Linked DNA regions of Homo sapiens: region 2 is linked to region 1. The links are contacts of gene promoters, found by promoter capture Hi-C in blood cells and fetal thymus (Javierre and others, 2016). All regions are on one chromosome and are shown on one strand. The core of a region is centred on a gene start or on the middle of the fragment in contact, and the rest is flanking DNA. Distances in the headings are between cores, read along the strand shown. Region 1 holds the start of SLC35D3 (solute carrier family 35 member D3). Region 2 holds the start of OLIG3 (oligodendrocyte transcription factor 3).

Region 1 (5,824 bases), core at 2,402-4,901:
AGAGATGGGGTTTTGCTACGTTGCTCAGGCTTGCTTGAACTCCTGAGCTCAAGTCATTTGCTTGCCTTGGCCTCCCAAAGTGCTGGGTTACAGGCATGAGCCATTGCACCACACCATTAACAGCTTCCTTCACTGGAAGATGCATTTCTGTTTTTGTTGTTATTTCAAACCAAACAGCTTTGTTAATTTAGGAAGTTTCCAATGGTGCGGCCCCTACACTCGGATACTATGACCACACATTGGAGGCAAACACAAACAACTATACAGCAACAATAGAACATGTGTCTAAAATAAATTTCTAACAATGTATCCTTTAATAGTTAGACTCATACTTTATTTTGACAAATTTAAGATAGAAAAATATCATAATGTGAATATAGCAGTTGCTCTTTTTGTAACATGGTTTGGGATGTGCAGTGAAACTTGAAAGGACTTGCTTTACAGGTGGTCCCTCTTCTGGCTGGGTTTCAGTTAATTCTGAATTATATTCCAGCCATTGCATTTGCTTGAAAGAATATTGGACACAGTAAAAAAAAGAACAGGTTTGGCATTCAATAATAAATATTATAAAGCAATGAACCAAAACAACTTTTAAAATAATTACTGAAAGCAAACTTCAGACTTCATGATTAAAGCTAAGAACTCATATTTTCAAAATAGCTTTAACAGTTTCTATCAATATATAATACAATAATAGGACACTTATTTTTAAAAAACAAGTGAGTAGAATCAGAGTAAATATGATATTTCAGATGACTATAAACAGTAAACATCAATTCAATATATTTATATATCATTTCAGCAATATACTCTTTGCCCAGCTGGCGATAAAAACTGTAGTTCTATCATCAAAAAATGCATCCCTGAATGTCATCTTTGAACTTACTAAGTGCTGTCATCATTTCTACACTCCATCTTTGGAGGGGGTGGCTTAGGGACTCTTGGTACATGCAGATATTTAGTTATGGTTATAATGACAAAAAGTAAATGTGCCAGGAGTCTGAAGCAGAAACGTTGCCTTACTTTGTTAAGTAGCTTCACATTCTTTTGTCTCTGTGATGCCTCAGGTGAAGTCACACTAAATAATTCACACAGGTGCTAATTTTGTTGCTCTGTGTCAGTACCTTTCAGCTTCTTTCTTTTCTTCCCTTCCCCACTCCTCAAAGAATAAAACGGGGAGGCCTCTCATTAAAACACGTCATTTCTAACATATAAAATAAGTGTATGCACATAGGTACGTACATGCACCTCCTTCTCAAGGACTGGGTAACTCCTCGTTTTCTATCAAATAATCCTTCTTCATATACCTGGTTCCCCTAACCAACCTCCATACCTCGAGGTAAGCATCTTTTAACGACCTCCTGCTCCCTTCTTCAGAGCTCCCAGCCACCAGCGGGACTCCTCGGGGGCTGCCCCTGACCTCTTGCCTGCTCTCCTGAGCGGGGCCACCTGCTGCCTCCCCACCTTCTGACCGGCCATTTCCTCCCTCCCCGGGCAGCTCCTCCATCACGAACGGCAGCTGGTCTCCACTTAGCTGCGCCTCCTCTCCCCGAGGCTGGGCCTCCAGGTCCTCGTAGTTGCTTTGCTTTCTGGTCTCCATGAACTTGGCCACACAGTAAATGATAGAGCCCAGGGTGTTCACCACCACGCCGGCAATGAACAGAGAGGTGGGCTCCACGTCGCTGAAGGCCACCATGCCCACCGTGATGGTGGCGATGCTCTTCACCACACCCACGAAGCTGGTGGTCACGGCCGAATTGATGTAGGTGCAGTGCAGCGTGGTGAAGTTCATGGCGCAGCCGATCAGGATGCAGGCCACGAAGATGCAGACCATGGCCGGGTCCTTCCAGCCCGGGAAGGTCCAGGCGTGGATGGAGTCGGTGCTGGCGAAGGAGCAGATGACCAGCAGCGGGGTGGCAGAGACGGCGATGACGTACTGCGCGGTGAGCGGCCCGTGCTCGGTGTCTGCGCTGGCCTTCTGGATGAGCACCAGGTAGGCAGCGTGCACCAGCACCGCCAGCACTCCCGTGACGTACCCGATGGGGTCGCCCGTCAGGTCGCCGGCTCCTGCGGCGCACGAGGAGGACGGCCGAGCCCGGGCGGGAAGGAAAAAGAGAGAAGACAGCAGGTTGGCGTGGGCGGGGACCCACGGGGAAAACGCGTCGGGTAGGAAAGGAGACTGGGTTCGCGCCCCAGCTCTGCCCACCGGATTCCTGAGTGACAGACGCCCGCCGTCCCTCGGCCACCCGTGTCAAATGCGACAGCCAAACTCAGTGCTCAGAGCGCCTTCCCGCCATATCCCCGGGTCACTCCATCTTCCTCTGTCCAAGACAAAGGCCCCGGAGAGCGCAGATGCCCTCGGGGCAGGTGCTGTGGCTTCCCCGAGCTGGCACCGAGGTCACTTGGGCGCGTGGTACCTGCACCCCGGAGCCCCTGCCCCGTGGGGCACCAAAGGGAGAGGGAGCCCCAGCCAGTGGCCTGCAACCCGGAGCGGGCCAGGCGCGGGGGAGAACGCCTGTTCTGGCCCCCAGTGAAGCTTCCCCCTGCCCAGGCTCTCGTCTCGCTCAGCACCTGGGTCGTCTGCCCCAGGGCCGCAGCCCCCTGCGCAGCACGAGACACCCCGCAGTAGCCCCGGGAACCCTCAGCTTCGCCCCCATCCCCCACCTCCATTCCAGCCCCTCGTGACCCAAGGAAGTTCACGGCCCCCTCCTTCCGGCTTGGTCCAGGCTTGGAGGACTCCAGCTCCCAGGCTCAGGCGGCCCTCCCACCTCTCCCGGAGAATGGGGTGACAGGGGAAGACCAGGAGAGGGGGCGACAGGAAGGGCGATGCCGGGTGAAGCATGGGCGAGGGTCGGAAGCCAGGACATTAGGGGGCAGGGGGACTTGGTGGGGCGCTGGGGAGCTCTCTGGGTCTCGGAAGTCCCTTTTGCGAGCTGAGCGACCACTCTCAAAGCTCTCCGGCTCTCTCTGCCTCAGTCTCCCCATCTGGAAGTGAGGTCGTTGAACTCAGTGATCCCCGCGGTCTCTGCCCGACGGAGCGGGGTGGGTGGGGTCGGCTGGGGGTCGGCGCGGGGGCCCGCTCACCTGCCAGGGCGGCGCCGCAGGTGGTGATGAGCACCGCCGCCAGCACCCCTGGCGAGGGCGCGCCGTTCTTGAGCACCAGGACGCCGATGAGCATGGTGACCAGGGGCAGGCAGCGCTTGAAGACCACGTACATGGGCAGGCTGAGGCCGCGCAGGGACCAGAGCGTGAGGCTGGACTGCAGCGTGGAGAGCACCGCGACCCCCGCGAAGGAGCGCGCCAGGCTCAGACCGAAGGGGGGCACGGCGATGAGCCCGAGGCGCCGCAGCAGCTCCAGGCTCAGCGCCGCGGTGGAGCTGGTCAGGCACTGCACCAGGGTCAGGAAGGAGAACTGGTAGCGGCTGATGAGGAACTTGAGCAAGATGTTGAGGGAGCCCGAGAAGACCCCGTGCGCGATGGCCACCGAGATGCCCAGCACGCGGCCCCGGCACAGCTGCCGCATCGCGCCGGCCTCGCCGCACCCAGCGGTGGCGGAGCTCCGCGACCTGCGCGCGAGGAGCCGGGAGCAGCGGAGTGAGGGCGGCGGGGGCGCCCGCCCAGCGCGGCGGCGAAGGGCAGGGGGCGCCGGCTCGGCTGCAGAGGGCAGCTCCGGCCAGGCGTTCTTGCGGTTAGGCAGCTCTGCGTCCGACTGCCCCGCAGCTCCGGGGAGGCAGTGACGAGGGCGGGGGACTCCGAAAAGTGGCAGAGGTGGCGGGGGGGCCGGTCTGAGAGGAGTGGCGGGAATCCTAGCGACAGCTATTTGTAAGTGGGTGATGAGCCGCGGTGGGTTGTGTCCCGCGCGGTTTCACCGTCAGGGAAGACGCTCTGCGGAGGGAAGCGGGCGGCTGGGCGCCCCGGGGCGGCTGCCGCAGGGCGGGACGGGGGCTCTTGGGGCGCGGCGCCCCTCTCCCCCCACAGAGCCAGCGGCTCTCGCTTGCCCCTTCCTCCTGGCCGAGGGGCTTGGGTTGGAGGGATCGGGACACAGCTAAAGATTTTAGAAACAGCGCATCAGGATCGAGCGCCGTTTATTGGTCGCAACAAGTGACGGCGCCCCCAGCCCCCTCGCCCCGGCGCTGCAGCGGCTTTTTCCACCCACTGTCCCTCCCGGTGCAGCGGCGGGACCTCGTCCAGCTGCCCGCCAGGGAAGCGAAAACCGTCGGTGCCGGCGGGCCCCCGAAGCTCCCGATCCCGGCGACGACGCCCGGGCATCGGAGGAGGAACCCGCGGCCCGGGGCGCTGTCCAGGGGGTGCCTCGGAGCCCGGAAGCTGGCTCCTTCCGGTGCCAGGCCACGCGCACCGCTCTCCGCACGCCTTCCAGAGAGGGTCCCGGGATTATGCGCGCGGCTCCGGGGAAGCTTTCAGGGGGTTCAGTGGTCTCGCCCAGCAGCGGGGCCTGGTGGCGGGGACACATTCGAACTGAGGCAAAGATGAAAATAAGCAAACGCGCAGAAACGAAGTCACTAACACGAGTAGCCACCACCAGGAACCGAGGAGCTCGGGGGCGACGCTTCCCGAAGCGTGGGAGGGGAGGCTGGCTGCGCTCGCAGAATGGGAGAGTAGAGGGGGAGGGGGCGGGAACCCGGGGCCCCTCACCCTGCAGGGAGACTCCGCGTGGCGTTCTCCGGATCCCAGGGAACTGATCCCAGGGAACCCTCACCCTGCGGGACCGTCGTGGGTTGCTTTCGGAAGCAGGACAACCGGCAGGCGGAGGGCGGGGAGAGTCACCACCTCCCTGGGCCAGGGTTCACACCTTTGCACCACAGGACTTGTGAACTGTGTGTTTCCTATATGACTAAGAGAAAAAGGGAATTCTAATTTTGGAGAGGGAGTAAGGCTTCGGTAACTCTTTGTTCTGAATTCAGTTCCCTGGAAAGTAACTCGCGCGGACCTGTAGTTAAATCAGCAGCAGCCAAGGGTTTCGCTCAGCCGAGGTAACCGTTAAGCGCCAGACAGTTTGGTTTTCAGGCGATTTGAAATTTGTGGCCTTGGCCAGGGTTTGGCTATAAGGGAAAGGTTCGAGATCGCTGCGCTCCAGCACCCCTTTCGTTCACCACCAGCAGTTTATTTCTCTTAGCCCCGGGAATCGTAACCTCCTAACCTTTTAGCGCTGCATCACGTTGCCTTAATAGACAGGATCCATTTCTCTCGTGGTTCTTCTGTTTTCTGCCTCTTACTTCCACCTCTGTGCTGAACGCGACACTTCAGCCAAAGTGCTGAAGTCGTGATTTACCGCAACAGAGGAAGAAAAAAAAATTACAGCAGGGATCAGCAGCATCACAGCAGCCCTTCATTTGGGCCAGCATTTGGGGCTCTGGATGCTCACTTTGGTGAGCTCTAGAGAGCTCGGGGTCAACCAGTCCACCAGCTTATGTGCCCGGTGCCTAGGAGGGCCACGTCCCTGCTCCCGACAGGTGGGCACTCAAAAAAAGTTTGTGAATGGCCCAGGGTGCCAACTTTCCAGGAATAGCTGGAAAGCATTATACTGAAACACGTGCTTCCGGTTCTCTGGGGAGCCCTTGGTTTTTGTTGCTAAAACTTGTGGTTACACACTATTGGCTGTTTAAGTGACTCTGTTTTTGTAGAGTTAATGTTATTTAGGAAATAATGAAGTCTGAAGCACCAGTTCAAATTATGTGTATGTGTGTGGTATAGTCAAAATATATTGATTCAAAACTCTGAAAATTAACTTTTTACAGATATCAGCAAATAACAGATTTCTGCTTCTAGAGACTATCCCAATAAAAGCATGGCTGCTTTAAGCCAT
Region 2 (5,824 bases), core at 2,153-4,652, 570 kb before region 1:
CGCAGCCCGAGCCACCGCAGCAGGGTCGCTCGCTCCGGCTCCTCGCCGGTCTGAGCCCTCCGAAAGGGGTCTCGGCCAGGGCCAAGGTCATGGTGCGTCTCCGGCTGAGCCTCTGTAGGCTGCTGCAGCCTTGGCCAGGCGGCGACTCCTTTACTCTCTCCTTCCGTACAAGTCTGGGGTGGGCGTTGGTAGTCAGCCCTCAGAAAGAAATCCGTGTGCCTGCCCTCCTGAGCTCCGGGCCTGCTCCTTCTCGGGTTCAGGGCTCAATCCGAGGAACTGAGCTGCGGTGGCGGGGGTCGAAAAGAGACTCCACGAAGCAAGACGTGCGGGGCGACTCAGCCTTTTGGGCCCCGGCGAGTATTAACCCATTTTACGGTAAGCAAAGTTGTGGCACCTTTACTCACTCCCCTCGTCTAGTTGTCAAGCCCCGCAACGGATGGGAAGTGGGGGAACTAGCTTCTAAAAGTACTTACTGGAAGGAGGCCCTGAACCTTGGACCACCCACACTCACGCATTACGGACCTTCGAAAAAGCAGAGGGTGACCGAGGAGCGGAGGGCGCGCCACGTCCCGGCCTCGGAGCCAGGGAGTCCCGGCCTGGTCCCCGCAGATCTCCCATTTCAGGCACCTCTGTTACTGGAGCTGAAAACCCTTAGGGAAGAAGGAAGGGAATGTCCTGGTCTGTTCGGGCAAAGGCCCAGTCGCCCCTTCCCGGCCCATCGCAGCCCCCTCGGAACCGGCTGCGGCAGGCGTCAGCCCCCTCTCGGCTGAAAGGCTGTGCTGAAGGAGAGTGGCTTCTGGTTTGGACTCCCAGAACCCTGGCCCCGGACTTCCAGCCCCGCAAGCTTGTATTTCGAGGGCTGCTCTACCCTCCTTCCCTCCCCTCCCCCCGCCCACGGCTTGCCACCTTCGTTACTAATTTGGGGGAGATTTTAAAACTTTATTTTACATTGTCCACTGGGAAAATCAAGACTTTTTTTAAAGGGTAAAATATCTTGTAGCAACATGATTTTTCCACTCCTTCATTTGCAACCCTTCTGCTCTGACCAGACAATTCTACTTCCCCAAATCAAAACTCAGGTGCAGCGTTTTCAGTCTGGGTGTGGGAAGGACAGACGCCGCCGACGACCTAGGGTCAGGGAGGTGGCTCAGGAGGACGGCGGGGGCCAGACCTGTGCACCGTCCGCAGGGCGGGGAAGCTGCTCTTCGTCCAGTCCAGTGCTCGCTCCCAATGCCCTCCCCCGTCCGCCTCTCTCTCCTCACCCCATTTGATCAGCAGGGGAGTCGCAGAGGGTTGTCGTTAGGACTAGCCACTAGCTTCCTCCCATCACCTGGGACTGCACAAGTTCTGGAGCACTTCCCCCCTCCCCTCCTTTTTTAAATAACCAGGAAGACTTAGTGTATGTCACTATCTTATTGGCGAGTCTGGTGAATTAAGAAACATTCTTTATGCTTGGTATTAGGAATGCTTTTGGACATTAGTCTTTCCACATCCAATCTAACCTCTTGAATTAAGAAACTTTCCTTCCACCGAGATGAAGGTGGTAGAAGAGGCTCCTGTCCAATCTGCAAGAGCACTAACTTCCTGGCCTTGACGAAGGGCTGTTGGCCATTTTTCCCCCATTACAGAAAAACAAAATTCGGTGTAGCAAAAGCATCCATGCCAATGTTGCGTTTGCCCATCCTTCTGGTATTGGCCAGAGCTGCCTTCGCAGCGTGACTGTCAGTGGGGCACAGCCTCAGAGCGTGCAAACTCCGGACCTGGGCGCGCATCCCTCTCCCACTGACCGCTCGGTTTGAGTCAAGGGAAAGGGGGGCATCCTGTTCTTCGAAGTGACTCAGCGGCGCAAGAGGCCCCAAGTGCCCGAGGTTCCGCGATTGATTCGATTTCACACTTCCACCGAGACTCTCAGTCACTAGCTAGCGTTTGTTTCCCGTTCCACCAAGCCGGGAGAGGGGCGGTGTCCGGGTTCTTCTAGAGACCACTCCTGGGGCTCTCTCCCTTCCCGGGATTTCTGCCTTCCCGCCCCTCGTGCTGCTGAGCTAAAGTCTTGATCACAAAAACACAGCAAGGGGGAAGAAAGATCTACGCCCACCTCCGCACTCGCACCGAAGGCTCCAAACTCCGACCTCCTCTTTATTCCCAGAAACGACTCTGCGCTGAACCGCAGTGCCCGGGCACGCACAAGGGGCTTTCTAGGTCCTTTCGTTGTTTCCCTTCCCCCGTGCTTCTTTGCCCACGCACCCCACCCCCCCGCCCCACCACCCCGACATCAGATAGTTTATTATGAGCTTCTGATTTCCCTGTCCGACGCCGTACGGCGGCCCCAGCCTGGTGGACCCACCCGCGCAGGCCGGGGTGCCGCTGAGTTCCCGGAGCTCGGGGCACGTCAGCACAGCGGCCAGAGGAGGCCCGGCGGAGCTTCGGGCGCGGACCGTCCCACCGTTTTGCGCCAGCGCCAAGGTCCAGGAAGCCTGGAGTGGGAACAATCTCTCTGGAGCTCTCAGGAACCTAACAATCTCTCTCTCTGCCTCCTTGGCTCCTTTTCCTTCCCATCCTCCCAAGTTGCTTTTCTTGTGACATTAACATTTTTTTTTCGCAGTTTTTGGTCTAGGAAGTTAAAGAATTGTGCAAAACTGAAATTCTTTTAGAAATCCATGTTTTAAAACGAAAGAGAGGACACAGAAAATAAGAGACCTCTCCGCCACAATACTGCCAGGAGCAAAGCCATCACCGAACATGGACATCCCGTTGAAACCACACCAGAAGGGCCCAATAAACAAAATTGACAGAATGGAAGTGTTTAGGAAAAGAGATCTAATGAAAAAAAAATATTGAGACAGAGAAAGTCGGCATGCAGTCTTCCCACCACCCCCAGCCCCCGCTGGCAGCACCTTCCCTCCGACCGCACCTCTGTCCCTCAAACCTTTCCACTGAGACCTATTTTTGCCCATATTTCTCTAAACTTGGGAGCAGCCAGGAAAGAAAGGAGAGCGAATGTTTCAATTCCTCTCTCCAAACTCAGAGGAACCTCCACCAACCGCCTGGCCACCTTCTCTTGCCTTCCTTCCGTTCCTGATGTGTGATTTGGTTAGAGAAATTGGGAAGGGGGGTGGGGTGGAAGAAAGTTAAAAAAAAAATCAGGAAGGCGTAAGCTGGAGCGGTGAGTGTGTCAATCAGAGGGTTTTGTGCCTGGGGGCTCCTAGCGGTTCGGAGCAGAGGTGTCCCAGGGCGGCCCCACAATGAATATGAATAGGAATCCTTGCTAAATGGGACAGCAAAGCGCACCGCCCTGAATGATGGCACGTCATCCTAACCAGCCCAGGATAGATAGGAGGGCTCCTTTTGTCTCTTTTCTCCGCCGCAGCTCTATAAAAGCCCCTCTTTTTCAGCGTGAGGTTAGTTCAAGCACACACCAACTAGCTGTCCAGGAAGCAGCCTAACCAGAGAGAGGGGCGTGGGAGGGAGAGAGGCGGGGAAAAGCAGCGTCTCCGCTTTTCTTCTCACGTCTTGCCGCGGAGAAGTGGGTTCCTGGGCAGTGCAGATTTTTTTTTTTTAATTCAAGATTTTCTTTAATTTCCCGCCTAAAGCCTCCCCACGGTAGGGCCGCATCCCCTGTAATAAAATGAATTCTGATTCGAGCTCTGTCTCCAGCAGAGCTTCATCTCCGGACATGGATGAGATGTACCTGAGGGACCACCACCACCGCCACCACCACCACCAGGAGAGCCGTCTCAACTCGGTCTCGTCCACGCAGGGCGATATGATGCAGAAGATGCCCGGGGAAAGCCTCTCGCGGGCTGGCGCCAAGGCCGCGGGAGAGAGCAGCAAGTACAAAATCAAGAAGCAGCTGTCGGAGCAGGACCTACAGCAGTTGAGGCTGAAGATCAACGGACGCGAACGCAAGCGGATGCACGACCTGAACCTAGCCATGGACGGGCTGCGCGAAGTCATGCCCTACGCGCATGGGCCGTCGGTGCGCAAGCTCTCCAAGATCGCCACACTCCTGCTCGCCAGAAACTACATCCTCATGCTCACCAGCTCCCTGGAGGAGATGAAGAGGCTGGTTGGCGAGATCTATGGGGGCCACCACTCGGCCTTTCACTGCGGGACCGTGGGCCACTCGGCCGGCCACCCCGCGCACGCGGCCAACTCCGTGCACCCGGTGCACCCCATCTTGGGCGGCGCGCTCTCATCTGGCAACGCCTCGTCACCGCTGTCCGCCGCCTCACTTCCCGCCATCGGCACCATCCGGCCTCCCCACTCGCTACTCAAGGCGCCCTCCACGCCGCCCGCGCTGCAGCTGGGCAGCGGCTTCCAGCACTGGGCTGGTCTGCCCTGCCCCTGCACCATCTGCCAGATGCCGCCGCCGCCGCACCTGTCCGCTCTCTCCACAGCCAACATGGCCCGGCTGTCGGCCGAGTCCAAGGACTTGCTCAAGTGAGCAGCGGGCGGGCCCGGCTGCCAAGGAGGAGGGAGAGCGGCGGGAGGGGCCGCGGTGCCGGGCCGGGAGGGAAGAGGGAGGCTGCACGCTCGGCCCACGGGAGGGCAGGCTCCGGGGCCCGCAGCCTCCCACGCTGTCTGAGAGATCTCAGACTCCACTTGACCCCCGGAGGGAAAGGACCAAAATCAAACCGCAATTTCTAGGTGGTAGCAAAGGGGGACTCGAACCAGATGTCGTGTGTTTTGCATGCATGCTTCTTTTCCCCATGCCGCGCCAGTATTTTTCACTGCCATATGCTCTTGTCAAAACTGCATTTGTTGTATAAAGATGGGATCGGTGTAGTTAAAAACTTGCGAAGGGACTTTTGAGTTGGCTTTCTCTGACTCTGTGTTCTCGCTTTGGAAAAAGACGGCCATCCCTTTTGTGCAAAACAAATGTAAATATTTTCTTGAGATGGATGCGATTATGATTGTCTCTGTCCTTGCCACAGTTTTTCTAGAGACAATGGAGAGAGAAAGAGAGAGAGAGCGCGAGAGAGATCAAGACCCAAGTTTTGAATCTCAACCGAGGTCCAGGGCATGACACCTCCTATGTGGGTTTTCCTTTCGACGCAGTGTAGGTCAAAAGAATGCATGCACGCTTCTAAATGAATCTTGTCTGAATATGTCGTGCAGGCTGTGGTGCCGTTTTCCTTGTAACAAGGATTTATTAGTGAATTATCCCAAGTACTCCATATATCTGTCTGTGGTTGTATGAAATGAAAAAAGGGGCAGAGTGCAAAGACCCACACTCACGCACACGCGCTTCTTCTCCCACCCCCACCCCCTTCAAACTTTATTCGGAACCTTCCTTTGCTGTTCTGGGGCCGCTATTGTAAAAGCCTGGGCTCCCTCTAGTAGCTTGCGCCACCCCCCCTCGCTCAGTTATTCTGCATGCGGGGTTGGCTCTCTCTATTATCAGCTTTGAAAACTTATCCTGGTTTTGGGAGGGGTGCCGTTTTTATTTTCCTGAACATTTGCTTGAAATATTTTGTTAGGGCCTCAAAGACGATACCTGTCTTTATTTTTTATATATTCTTGATAACTATGATATATTTATTAATAACCAGTGTTTCTGGATGAGATTTCAAATAAAAAAGAACCTTTAAATCGTGGCTTTGCCTTTGCCTAAAATCTTAGCAGATGGGGGTAGTGGGATAGGAAACACGTGGACCAGGTAAGGTGTATCTGGGTGAGGAATTTGGATGGGTGGGCAGATGTGAAGGTTTTCCGTGATTACGTACAAGTAAACAGGATGGGTAAATTGGTGCTGATTTTTGGAACTAAATGTCCTTCAAGCGGGCATTGCCCACATTCATAGTATTATGCTATTTGAGCTCAT

Evidence for each region. The method cuts DNA at HindIII sites, captures the fragments that hold promoters and counts their contacts. A CHiCAGO score of 5 or more calls a contact.
Region 2: the fragment with the promoter of OLIG3 here is called in contact with the fragment with the promoter of SLC35D3 in region 1 in 16 of 17 cell types (fetal thymus, M0 macrophages, total B cells and 13 more); the score reaches 24.3 in fetal thymus.

Annotation. Positions count from the first base shown.
Region 1 is chr6:136,920,128-136,925,951 of GRCh38, reverse strand. It overlaps SLC35D3 (solute carrier family 35 member D3), which reads right to left and starts at 3,651. Exons shown (of 2, transcript NM_001008783.3): 1 at 3,085-3,651; 2 at 292-2,067. The coding sequence starts at 3,523. The coding sequence ends at 1,256. RefSeq lists an enhancer at 4,123-4,629. The HindIII fragment of the contact is 1,879 bases long and covers 2,539-4,417 here.
Region 2 is chr6:137,491,972-137,497,795 of GRCh38, reverse strand. OLIG3 (oligodendrocyte transcription factor 3) reads left to right here and starts at 3,402. Exons shown (of 1, transcript NM_175747.2): 1 at 3,402-5,597. The coding sequence starts at 3,626. The coding sequence ends at 4,444. RefSeq lists enhancers at 1,245-1,777, 1,778-2,311, 3,993-4,492. The HindIII fragment of the contact is 6,431 bases long and covers 847-5,824 here.